Linked DNA regions of Homo sapiens: region 1 is linked to region 2. Evidence: promoter capture Hi-C in 16 types of primary human blood cells and fetal thymus (Javierre and others, 2016). All regions are on one chromosome and are shown on one strand. The core of a region is centred on a gene start or on the middle of the fragment in contact, and the rest is flanking DNA. Distances in the headings are between cores, read along the strand shown.

Region 1 (5,574 bases), core at 2,094-4,593, 510 kb before region 2:
TAATCCCAGCACTTTGGGAGCCCGAGGTGGGTGGATCACCTGAGGTCAGGAGTTTGAGACCAACCTGACCAACATGGAGAAACCCCATCTCTACTAAAAATACGAAAAATTAGCCGGGCATGGTGGTGCATGCCTGTAATCCCAGCTACTCAGAAGGCTGAGGCAGGAGAATTGCTTGAACCTGGGAGGCAGAGGTTGCAGTGAGCCAAAATCGCGCCATTGCACTCCAGCCTGGGCAACAAGAGTGAAACTCCATCTCAAAAACAACAACAACAACAAAAACAATTACAGCTCTGGATGCAATAGAAAAAAACAACCCTTTGAAGGCATTGGAGAACAGCACAGAGCAGGAGAGTGGAGTGGATGTGACTCTTGAAAGAAGGGGGTCGTGGGCTGACATCCATGTTTCTCCAGTTTTCCCTCTGGTATCCAGAGGATGAAAGCCACTGGACACTGGCTTCAGGGATCAGAGGTCAGAGTGTTACAGTAGATAGTTAGCGAGACATCAACAGGGCCCCCCAACACCAGGAATGTCAGGCAACCATCAGGTGATGGTCAGGCGGTTGTTAACTGTCTCTCTAAAATAATAAGTGGTTGCAGCCAGTGCCAGGGAAAGGCAGTCTCCTAATAGATAGAAACACCTGAAGCAGCTTCTGGGTAAGATCTCAGGAGTTAGGTGAGTGGGCTCCAGCATGCGCACTAAGAGGCAAAATGGTGGAGTTTAACTGGCATGTAACCTTCCTCTAGGAACACTCACTGGTAAGGGAAGAATGCCTCAAGTGAGCATGTGCCCAACTTCAGTACACACACTGAGCATGCTCCCTCCCAAGTGCTGTCATCCCACTGTGCATGCAGACAGCCCACCCCAAGGGAAGAATCAGGGGAGAAATAATGCAAAACCGCGGAAGCGTGCCAACATACAAAATCCCAAGTCAGAGGTTGAGCCGTGCACTTGACTCTCTCAAGTTGCCTGCTTGGCCCTCTTCCAAGTGTACTTTACTTCCTTTCATTCCTGCTCTAAAATTTTTTAATAAACTTTTGATCCTGCTCTAAAACATGCCTTGGTCTCTCACTCTGCCTTATGCCCTTTGGTTGAATTCTGTCTTCTGAGGAGGCAAGGATTGAGGTTGCTGCAGACCTGTGCAGATGACCATACAGATTCACTGCCTCTAAACTACTCTGGTGCCATGTGACTCAGAGACATCCCTAGTGGTAACAGGAGTTAAGGGCAGGTCCAGCAGCTAGGGATGGAGGGAGGAAATCCCAGCAGAGTAGGAGCCATGATTGGGGTTGGGGAGGGGGAGAGCAACATCTGCCTAAGAACACCCTAAGATTCTTTGCCAACTCCTGACCTGCACGTGTGCTGGGCGAGACTCTCAGGAGACCAGGGGAATTAAGAAGCCCATGGAAATCCTGGAATAGCCAGATACAATTCTGAAATAAAAAAATCTAGGCCGGGCGCGGTGGCTCACGCCTGTAATCCCAGCACTTTGGGAGGCCGAGGCGGGCCGATCACGAGGTCAGGAGATCGAGACCATCCCGGCTAAAACGGTGAAACCCCGTCTCTACTAAAAATACAAAAAATTAGCTGGGCGTAGTGGCGGGCGCCTGTAGTCCCAGCTACTTGGGAGGCTGAGGCAGGAGAATGGCGTGAACCCGGGAGGCGGAGCTTGCAGTGAGCCGAGATCCCACCACTGCACTCCAGCCTGGGCGACAGAGCGAGACTCCGTCTCAAAAAAAAAAAAAAAAAAAAAAAATCTACTGGGCTGGGCACAGTGGTTCACACCTGTAATCCCAGCACTTTGGGAGGCCAAGGCAAGCAGATCACCTAAGGTCAGGAGTTCGAGATCAGTCTGGCCAACATGGTGAAACCCTGTCTCTACTGAAAATACAAAAATTAGCCAGGCGTGGTGGTGCGTGCCTGTAATCCCAGCTACTCTGAAGGCTGAGGCAGGAGAATCGCTTGAACCCAGGAGGCAGAGGTTGCAGTGAGCCGAGATTGCACCCCTGCACTCCAGCCTGGGCAACAGAGCGAGACTCCGCCTCCAAAAAAAAAAAAAAAAAAAAAAACTATTGAAAGAGGGCTGGGCACAGTGGCTCATGCCTGTGACCTCAGTATAACTGTGAGAAGTTCATTGCCCAAAGCACACAGCATGTCAATACAAGACCCCAGGCTGCAGAAGAGAAAGAGGTTTAATCGTAGGGTCACCAAACAAAGAAATGGGAGAGAACCTCAAATCCATCTCCCTGAGGAGCCTGGGGCTAGGGTTCCTAAGGGTTTTGGAGTGGGCTGAAGTGTGGAGATCACTGATTGGTGGAAAAGTGCAGGGTGAAGTCATGGGACTGGGAGAGGAAGCAGCTGTATTCCCATGCTGATCCCATTCCTCTGTGGGAGTGTCCAAACTGGCTGCTGGAATTTGGCGTCTGAAAAACATCTGAAGTGATCCTTCAAGAAAAGCCTTATGATTCTTATGTCAGAGACCCTGTCTATGGGAACAATGGGGATGCAATCGGTCAGGATCTCATGCTGACTTCTAGAAACAAGGAAGTGGGCGAAAGTGTAGCCTGATTAATGCTTAATTGTAACTGTATTTCTGTCTAGAACCCAGCATGCAATGCTTGTCAACCCTTCACCAGCACTTTGGGAAGCCCAGGCAGGAGGATCACTTGAGCCCAGGAGGTTGAGGCTGCAGCGAGCTATGATTGCACCACTGCACTCCAGCCTGTGTGACAGAACACGACCCTGTCTCTAAGAAAATTTTAAAAATCTACTAAAAGAGGCCGGGCACGGTGGCTCATGCCTGTAATCCTAGCACTTTGGGAGGCCCAGGCGGGCGGATCACCTGAGGTCAGGAGCTCAAGACTGGCCTGACCAAAATGGCGAAACCCTGTCTCTACTGAAAATATGAAAAAATTAGCTGAGCGTGGTGATGGGCACCTGTAATCCCAGCTACTTGGGAGGCTGAGGCAGGAGAATCGTTTGAACCTGGGAGGCAGAGGTTGCAGAGAGCCAAGATCACACCACTGCTCTCCAGCCTGGGCAACAGAGTGAGATTCTGCCTCAAAATAAATAAATAAATAAATAAAAATCTACTAAAAGAAATTAATATTTTGTGCTTTTGTTATCTTTCACTTATAAATATTTTCTAATTTCCCTTGTGACTTTTTCCGTGGCCCAGAGAATATGTATTTAGAAGTCTTGCTTCCTTTGAGGGTGTTTCTGGATATCATATTGCTATTGATTTCTAAAAGAATTTTTTAAATTCCATTGGATCAAAGAACATACTCTGTATTGTTTCAATCCTGTTAAGTTTATTGAGACTCATTTTATGGTCCAACATACAGTTTGTCTTTTTTTTTTTTTTTTTTTTTGAGACAGGGTCTCACTCTGTCCCCCAGGCTGTCCCCCAGCCTTGACCTCCCAGGTTCAAGCGATTCTCCTACCTTAGCCTCCTGAGTGGCTGGGACTACAAGTGTGCTCCACTACTTCCAGTTAATTTTTTATATTTTCTGAAGAGATGGGGTTTTGCCATATTACCCAGGCTGGTCTTGAATGCCTGGGTTCAAGCAATCTGCCCACCTTGTCCTCCCAAAGTGCTGAGATTACAGATATGAGCTGCCATGCCTGGTCCATATGGTTTATCTTGACCAGCATTCCTTGGGTATTCTAGAAGAATGTGTATTCTACTGTTGGTGAGTATTGTGTTTTACATATTTCTGTCTCCTGCATGGCCAGCCCCACGTCAATTAGGTCTGAGTTCCAGGAGGAAGGAGACAGAAGACAAGTTTGCAGCCGTATCAGGAAAGCAAAGACTTTCCTGGGATTCCCCAGTAGCTTTCTTGGTCAAAATTGTGTCACATGGCCACTGCTAGCTGCAAGGGCTTGAGAAAAGGTGAGTTTGTAGTTGTCTAAGATCCTACCTGATCCAACTTGAATATGTGATGAGTGGCCCAACCCATAACACCTGCCACATTGTGTTAGTGAAACCACCTTTGCAAAATTATGACAGTGAGAGAACTCTGACAGAGTGGACTCCATCTTCCCTCTAACCTCCAAGCTGTCCTTGGTCATTCCTGGGCATAGGCCAAGCTGACTTTGGGAGGAATTTAGTTTTTAGCTTAAGGCAAGCATGGTAATAGCCCTTCCCAAAACTAAACCACCTTTGTAAAGCTAATAAAAGTCCACAAAGATAGGGTTATGAGAAGGGCCTGAACTCTGATAAGATGAAGGCGCAGTAAATTATTATCAGTATTGTTCCGGATGTCACAGATGTGTGACTTCCTCAGTTACTCCTATAAATAACAACACTCTTGTAGAACCGAAGATCGGCCTTTTGAGATGTCTTTTCAGACTTTTGCATTTCTGATGATCAACTGACCCCACCTGGACCACCGACTCGTGACTCAACTGGTCCTGTGGCCCCCACCCAGAGGACTTGGAGCACGAGGACAATTTTCCACACCCCTGTGATTTCACCCCAACCAATCAATATTCCTTCTCCCCCAGCCCCCTGCCCACCAAACTGTCCTTGAAAAACTCTAACCTCTGAGCCTTTGGGGACACTGATTTTAGTAATAACTCCGTCTTCCACGTAGCTACCTTCTTTCTCTACTGCAGTACCATGGTCTCAATGAATTGGTTTTGTTCGTACAGGAAGCAGGAGGAACCCATCGGCTAATCATATCTAAGTCACATCTAACCCTCACACCTTTGCACGTGTTGTTTCCTGTACTGGGAACACCTTTGTCTCTGCCATGAACATACCCAAACTTCAGGCTCATCCTAGATAGTACCTCCTCCATGAGGCCTTCCTGGCTCCCCAGTAATTTTTCTCTGTCTTTCTTTCTGTCTGTCTTTCTTCTTTCTTCCTTTCTTCCTTTCTGTCTTTTCTTTCTCTTTTCTTTCTTTTTTTTTTTTTTTTGACAGAGTTTTGCTCTTGTTGCCCAGGCTGGTGCAGTGGTGCAATCTCGGCTTACTGCAACCTCTGCCTCCCAGGTTCAAGTGATTCTCCTGCCTCAGGCTCTTGAGTTGCTGGGATTACAGGCACCCACCACCATGCCCAGCTTATTTTTGTATTTTTTAGTAGAGACAGGGTTTCACCATGTTGGCCAGGCTGGTCTTGAAATCCTGACCTCATGATCTGCCTGCATTGGCCTCCCAAAGTGTTGGGATTACAGGCGTGAGCCACGGGTCTCAAGAATAGCTTCTTTTTTTAATCTGGAGGCTTGCAGCCCTTTGTGCACACCTGTTCTTCTTCAATGAATACCTGTGTGCCCCCAACCCAGATTTCACCAATTCTTCACATTTTAGCATGTTTTCTCCCTCCCGTCCCCATCCTTTTAATCTCTGTCTCTGTGTCTCTATTTTCTTTTTCTTTTGTTTTTGTTTTTTGAGATGGAGTTTCCCTCTTGTTGCCCAGGCTGGAGTGCAATGGCATGATCTTTGCTCACTGCAACCTCCGCCTTCTGGGTTCAGGCGATTCTCCTGCCTCAGCCTCCCGAGCAGCTGGGATTACAGGCATGCACCACCATGCCCAGCTAATTTTTATATTTTTAGTAGAGACGGGGTTTCTC
Region 2 (5,484 bases), core at 942-3,441:
AATGAACCTCAAATGGTGAAACTGCAGGTAAGGTAGCTTGTTGAGTGGGGGAGCTATTCCAGAGGCAACCAGGACCATCTGCTATCACAACCCTCAAATCAAGCCCTTTGGTAAGCAGACGTGAGGAGCCCAGCTGTTTAGAGGTGAGGAAGGCCAAGTCTGAGAAGTATATGCGGACCCAGCACAGACGGGGCCAGGATGCTAGCTCTGGGCCTCCCACCCCTCACTGCTGTCCTCCAGCACTCGAGGCAGAGCTTCCTGGTTCACACCAGTGGCTTCTGTGTGCCACCTTCCCAACTCACGGGGGACACCCACCCTCTACCACGAGACACTCTGCCTTCCTGCCCTCCCCAGCCCTGGCAGCCAGAACCAAGCCTTGCTATTCCCCCAGGCAAGGGGCCCCTTCCCAGCTCCTCCTTGGCAGAGTAACATCTAGTGCCCCCACCCCTGTAGGTGCTGACCGCAGTGCGCCTACCCCTGCACCACGAACCAAGCACTAACTCCAAGCCAGCTCTCCCCATCGTGGGCTGACTCATCATCACCATGCAACTGGCCCCAACTAGGTTCTTAAAGCCCGCCCCACCCCACACCCCACAACCTAATTCTTCCCTGTGTGAGGGTCTGACTCCACCCAACACACACACACACACACACACACACACACACACACACACACACACACTCCTGTGTCTCTCTAGCTTATTTCAAAATCCAAATTAGGGTTGGGGCACTTCCCAAGGGGCTGGAAGGCGAGGTCAATGTCAATGCCAGCTCTGGTCTGAGAGGGCAAAGGACGTAGAAAAAGAAGGCTCTGCTTTCTGAATTACTAGGGAGGATGGGGGAGTATTACTACCGAGGAAAGGCTAATTTCCTCCCAGTGGACCGCTGACAGCACTAGGGCTGGGGCTGGGGTCGCAGTGGGGCGGCGGCTGGCATCGGATCTCCGCTCACAGCACGGAGGCAGCCTCTCTAGGTGCCCGCTCCGAGAAAGCCAGGCAGAGTCCCCGCCGGCTGGCGCCGTCACTGCCTTGGAACACGCGGGCTCTGCTCGAGTCCTGGGCTGACCTACGGTGGAGATGAGGGGCAGTGCTCCCGGGTGCCAGCTCCTGGGGGCAGCCAGCACCGCTCGTAGCGGACCAGTTCCAGGGCCAGGAAGGCGAAGCGAGAGCCGCAAAAGGCTCCCGGCTCCTCGAGGGGCGCGTCTTCCCATAGCTGGACCGAATTTGGGAGGATGTGTAAGTCCCCTGGGGTCTCCCGCGGGCACAGGGACTTGATGAGGGGAGGGGAGAACTACGTGCCTTTAGTTCCCCTCAGCGCCTCTGCCCAGCCCGCAGTAGGGGTGCGCCCCACCCCATCCCCACTGTCCAAATGGGGACCCAGGGCTCAGAAGGGGAGGGGATTGGATCCCAACGCGCTCCACTCTCGAAAATCTCTCCACCCCAGACCTGGACCCTCTCCGTAGCGCCGAGAGCAAAGCCCCCAAATGTTCGCGGTCCCAGGACCGGGGATGGGGGATGGGATGCCTGTCCTCCCAAGGCCAACGCGAATGGAATTCGAGTTCCCAGGAATCAAAGTTGCCGCGCGTCGGGGAGCTCGGAGCGGGGCGCGAGGCTAGGGCCAGGGGCCTGGGACCGAAGGATGCCGCGAGCGCCCGCCACGGGCGATGGCCGCGCTGGGAACAAGTGGTTCGGCAGCCGCGGTCACCACCAACTTCCCCGCCGCGCGGCGGGCGAACGGCGAGGGGAAGGAGAGGGAAGCGAGGAGGGAAGAGGCGGTGCGTGGCTCCGGGTACCGTGTGCGTGTGTGCAGCGGCGCCGCGCCTCGCCTCGCCTCGGGCTCTGCTCTCCGCCGGATCGGCCCCCGCGGGCCGCCTGCTCTGGCCCTGGCCACCGCCGCGTCTTCCCGCCGGCGCGAAGGCTCATCCGCGGCGTGCCGGCAGCTCCTGGGTCTCCGCGGGCCGCTCGCCGCTCGCCGCTCGCCGCTCGCAACTTCAGGCGCGCCGGGGGCTCGGACTGGGCGCGCCCCAAACGTCCAGAGGCTCTGCCACCCCGCGCTCCATGCCCAGGCCGGGCTGACTAGCCCCGACCACCTCAGCGTCCGGCCGCCGTCGGACGCGTCCTCTAGCCAAGCATCGCGCCTGCAGCCCGCGTCCCTCTCTCCCGAGCCGCCGCCGCCGCTCAAGTCCGCGATCAACTTTCCCTTGCTTCCCCCGCCCCGCTCGGCCCCCGCCCCGCTCGGCCCCCGCCGTCCAGACCCCGCCTCCCGCAGCTCCCTCCCTCACCTCCCGCCTCGCCCGGCCCCCGCCCGCCCGCCCGCGCTCGGCGCTCCCCCACCCCTCAGGCCGCCAGGACCCCCGAGCTCCCGCCCGGCCCCGCCCGGACCCCCGGGAGCGGCGCCGAGCCCCGCCGGGCGCTCAGGGCATGAATATTTCAGTGCTGGCGAAGCTGCCCTCTGCCGATGTCATGGCACCGGCTGCTGTGGCAACTCTACGAATCCCCCAAAGGGGCAGGGAGGAAGCCCGCGGAAGAGGCCCCAGGTGCGAGACAGAGCAGTGCCCCGCCAGGCCGCCAGCCGTCCCGCAGAGGGGCGCGCAGGGGGATGGGGCCCCCAGCGTCTCGTCCGCCCCGCGCCTCAGGCAGAGCGAGGTAACGCTCCCGGGAAGCCCGGGCGGGCGAGCGGGCGCTCGGCCTAGGTGAGCCCGCGCCATCTGTTGGCTTTAAGCGCCCCCTCTCTGCTCCCAGAGTCGCTGAGCAGTCCCTCTAGTCCTTGGGGCCTCTTGGCCTACGCTTCTCTCCAACCAGCTGCCTTTGCCCACCCGACTCGTGCGCTCCCATCTGCGCCTCCTCCCTCACTAGAGCTCAAGAGGCCTCCAAGTGCTTAGAAATGGAGGACCCCGGGTTGGAGGAGACCCGTGAGGTCACTTAGGCGCCCTCACCCCTGCGGGAGCTCCGTCTGCAGTGCCCGAGTCATGGTCTCCCGGCTCCTTTTTGCACACCTATAGGGACAGAGACTTTATGGCTTTCTGAGACAGCTGGATCAAGAAAGGGTCCATATGCAGGTAATGGAAGAGGTTTATCCCCTACCTTTGATCTTTACTTCCCCGGGGCTAAGCATTCTGATTTTTTAAAACTATTTCTCACATGACAGGATTTCCGAGCTGTCACTGTTCCAGTCAGTACATTGACAGTACCTGCCTGGAGCCAGGCTCTGGGCTGAGACTTTCTGGGCCTCAACTCATTCTATCTTCAATAAAGTCTTTCTGGTGGGCCCTGCCATTATCCCAGTTTTACAGTGAGAAACAGGCTTTAGGAGGTTGGGGACTTGCCCCTGTGGTGGAGTCGGGTATTGAACCCAGAATCTATCTGGTTCCAAAGCTCCAGTTCCTTACCATTCGCTCATTCATTATTCATTCATTCATTCACAGTCACTGCTATGTGCTAGCTAACTGAAATAGTTTCTAGGAATAGGATGGAGAACAAAACAGGCTTGGTCTTTGTGCCCCATGAAGCTTCTCTAGTAGGGGAACCAGACATTCATCAATGAAACACATAAGCAGGTAAAATTACAGCCAGAATCAGTGCTAGGAAGAAGAGTGCTTTAATGGCGCCTGGCCGAGGGGATCAGGGAAGACCTCCTAGAGGAGGTGACTGAGCTGAAGGATGAGCAAGGGAGAGAGAGTGGAGTTTTAGGCAGGAGAAACAGCATGTGCAAAGGCCCCAGGTGCCCACTGCAGGCAACGGCTGGGCCAGGAACAATGGTTTGGTGACCGCAGTCGCAATCAACTTGTGCAAAGGTGGGAAGGAGCTGGCATATGTCAGGAAGTCCAGAAAGGGTGGGGAGAGCTCCGTGCCTCCAGCGTACGAGGAAACGCTCCTGGGAAGCTTGGGAGGGTGAGTGAGCCTGCACCATCTGTTGGCTTTAAGCACCCCCTCTCTGATCCGAGTCACTGAGTGGTCCCTCTAGTCCTTGGCAGTGACTGTAAAGCCACAATGGAGTGGGGGCCAGACTGTGCAGGTGTGTTGGCCTTAATCAGGAGTTGATCTTTATCCTAAGACTGAAAGCTTCAGAGGCCGGGCTTGGTGGCTGACACCTATAATGGCAGCATTTTGGGAGGCTGAGGCAGTAGGATCACTAAGACTCTATCTAAAAAAAAATAAGAGAGAGAGAGAATTGATTGGGAGGCAACAGTTGATGAGAAGAGACTGCTTCAATTAAAAGTATTTATTTGTCAAATACTATGTGCCAAGAAATTTTCTAGACCAGGGGTGAGCACACCGCTACCCAGAGGTCAAATCTGCCTCATCACATGTTTTTGTAAAGAAAGTTTTAGTGGCACACAGACATGGCCTGTTTGGTTGTGTCTCCTTTCACACTACAACTACAGACATAAGGAATTTCAAGAGGGACCGCATGGCCTGCAAAAACAAGAAATATTTACAGCCTGGCCCTTTACAGAAAACGTTAGTTAACCCCTGTGAATTTAGACACTTTGGATATGTCAATGAACAACACACACAAGCACACACACACAGGCACACACACATGCACACAGACACGCATGCTTGCGCCAAACAAATCCTTGCCCTGGTGAAGCTTACATGTCCTCAGGCTGCTGCAGTGTCTAGGTGATTGGTGACAGAGGCCTGGAATGAGGGGGTGGGTAGAAGTGGAGAGAAGTGACTTTCAGGAGGTAAAAATCTACAGGGCCAGGAGGACAGGGAGTGGTTATACGTGAGATAGAGCAAAGGGTCAAGGAGACTTCTGGGTTTCTGGCTTGTGGTGGTAGATGGACAGTGTGCTGTTTCCTGTGATGGGGCCCTCTGAGGAGGCCACTATGGAGACCTGAGCAAGAGCTCCCTTGGGACATGTTGTGTGAGAGGCCTGTGCAGTCACAGAACAGAGATGCCAAGTAGGCTCTTGGACAAATGAACTGGAGTCGTGGTCCTACATGTCTTAGGTGGTCATGCTTTTACACAGTGTGATGGAGCCAGGAGTCCGGAGAGCGGGATCTGAGTTCTAGGTCACCCTCTAGCTGGATGGTAGCGGGCTGGACACTGGACCTCTCTTGGCCTTGTGTTCCCCATTCGTAAAATGAAAGCATGAGAAGAGGTGTTCTTCAAGGTTCTCCACCCCTCAAACCTTCTGTTACACACTGTGCCAAGCACCGTGCTGGGAACTGGGGTGTCAGTTGGGATGCAGCCAGCCCACAGAACCACCGTGAGTGTGTAACAGACAGGGAATGGAAGGGCTGAGAATTCTAACTGGATGGCGAGGCGACCCAGAGTGCAGCAACAGCAGAAAGTGTGCCACCCCTAGACTGGAGGGATAAGGGAGGAAGCAGAGTGACCAGGATCAGGGCACACGGTGGAAGGTGAGACCACAGTGGGCCTGTGTGGTGTGGGCTCGAGTCACAGAAACACAGCTACTGCCAGAGACGGTGGAGTGTGAAGACACATCCCGGCTTCTTTCCCCAGCCCTCTCGTC

What was found. Contacts are between HindIII fragments. The CHiCAGO score rates a contact against its expected background, and 5 or more counts as called.
Region 1: a contact is called between a fragment that was not itself captured here and the fragment with the promoter of CDH23 in region 2, in 1 of 17 cell types (neutrophils). The highest score is 7.6, in neutrophils.

The regions. Positions count from the first base shown.
Region 1 is chr10:71,908,281-71,913,854 of GRCh38, reverse strand. No RefSeq gene overlaps it. Among named protein-coding and RNA genes, the nearest start is that of LINC03139, 33 kb to the right of the region's middle. RefSeq lists an enhancer at 4,063-4,292. The HindIII fragment of the contact is 9,081 bases long and covers 1-5,574 here.
Region 2 is chr10:71,393,627-71,399,110 of GRCh38, reverse strand. CDH23 (cadherin related 23) reads right to left here and starts at 2,191. Exons shown (of 70, transcript NM_022124.6): 1 at 1,793-2,191. RefSeq lists an enhancer at 1,388-1,899 and a silencer at 2,583-2,672. The HindIII fragment of the contact is 8,970 bases long and covers 1-3,510 here.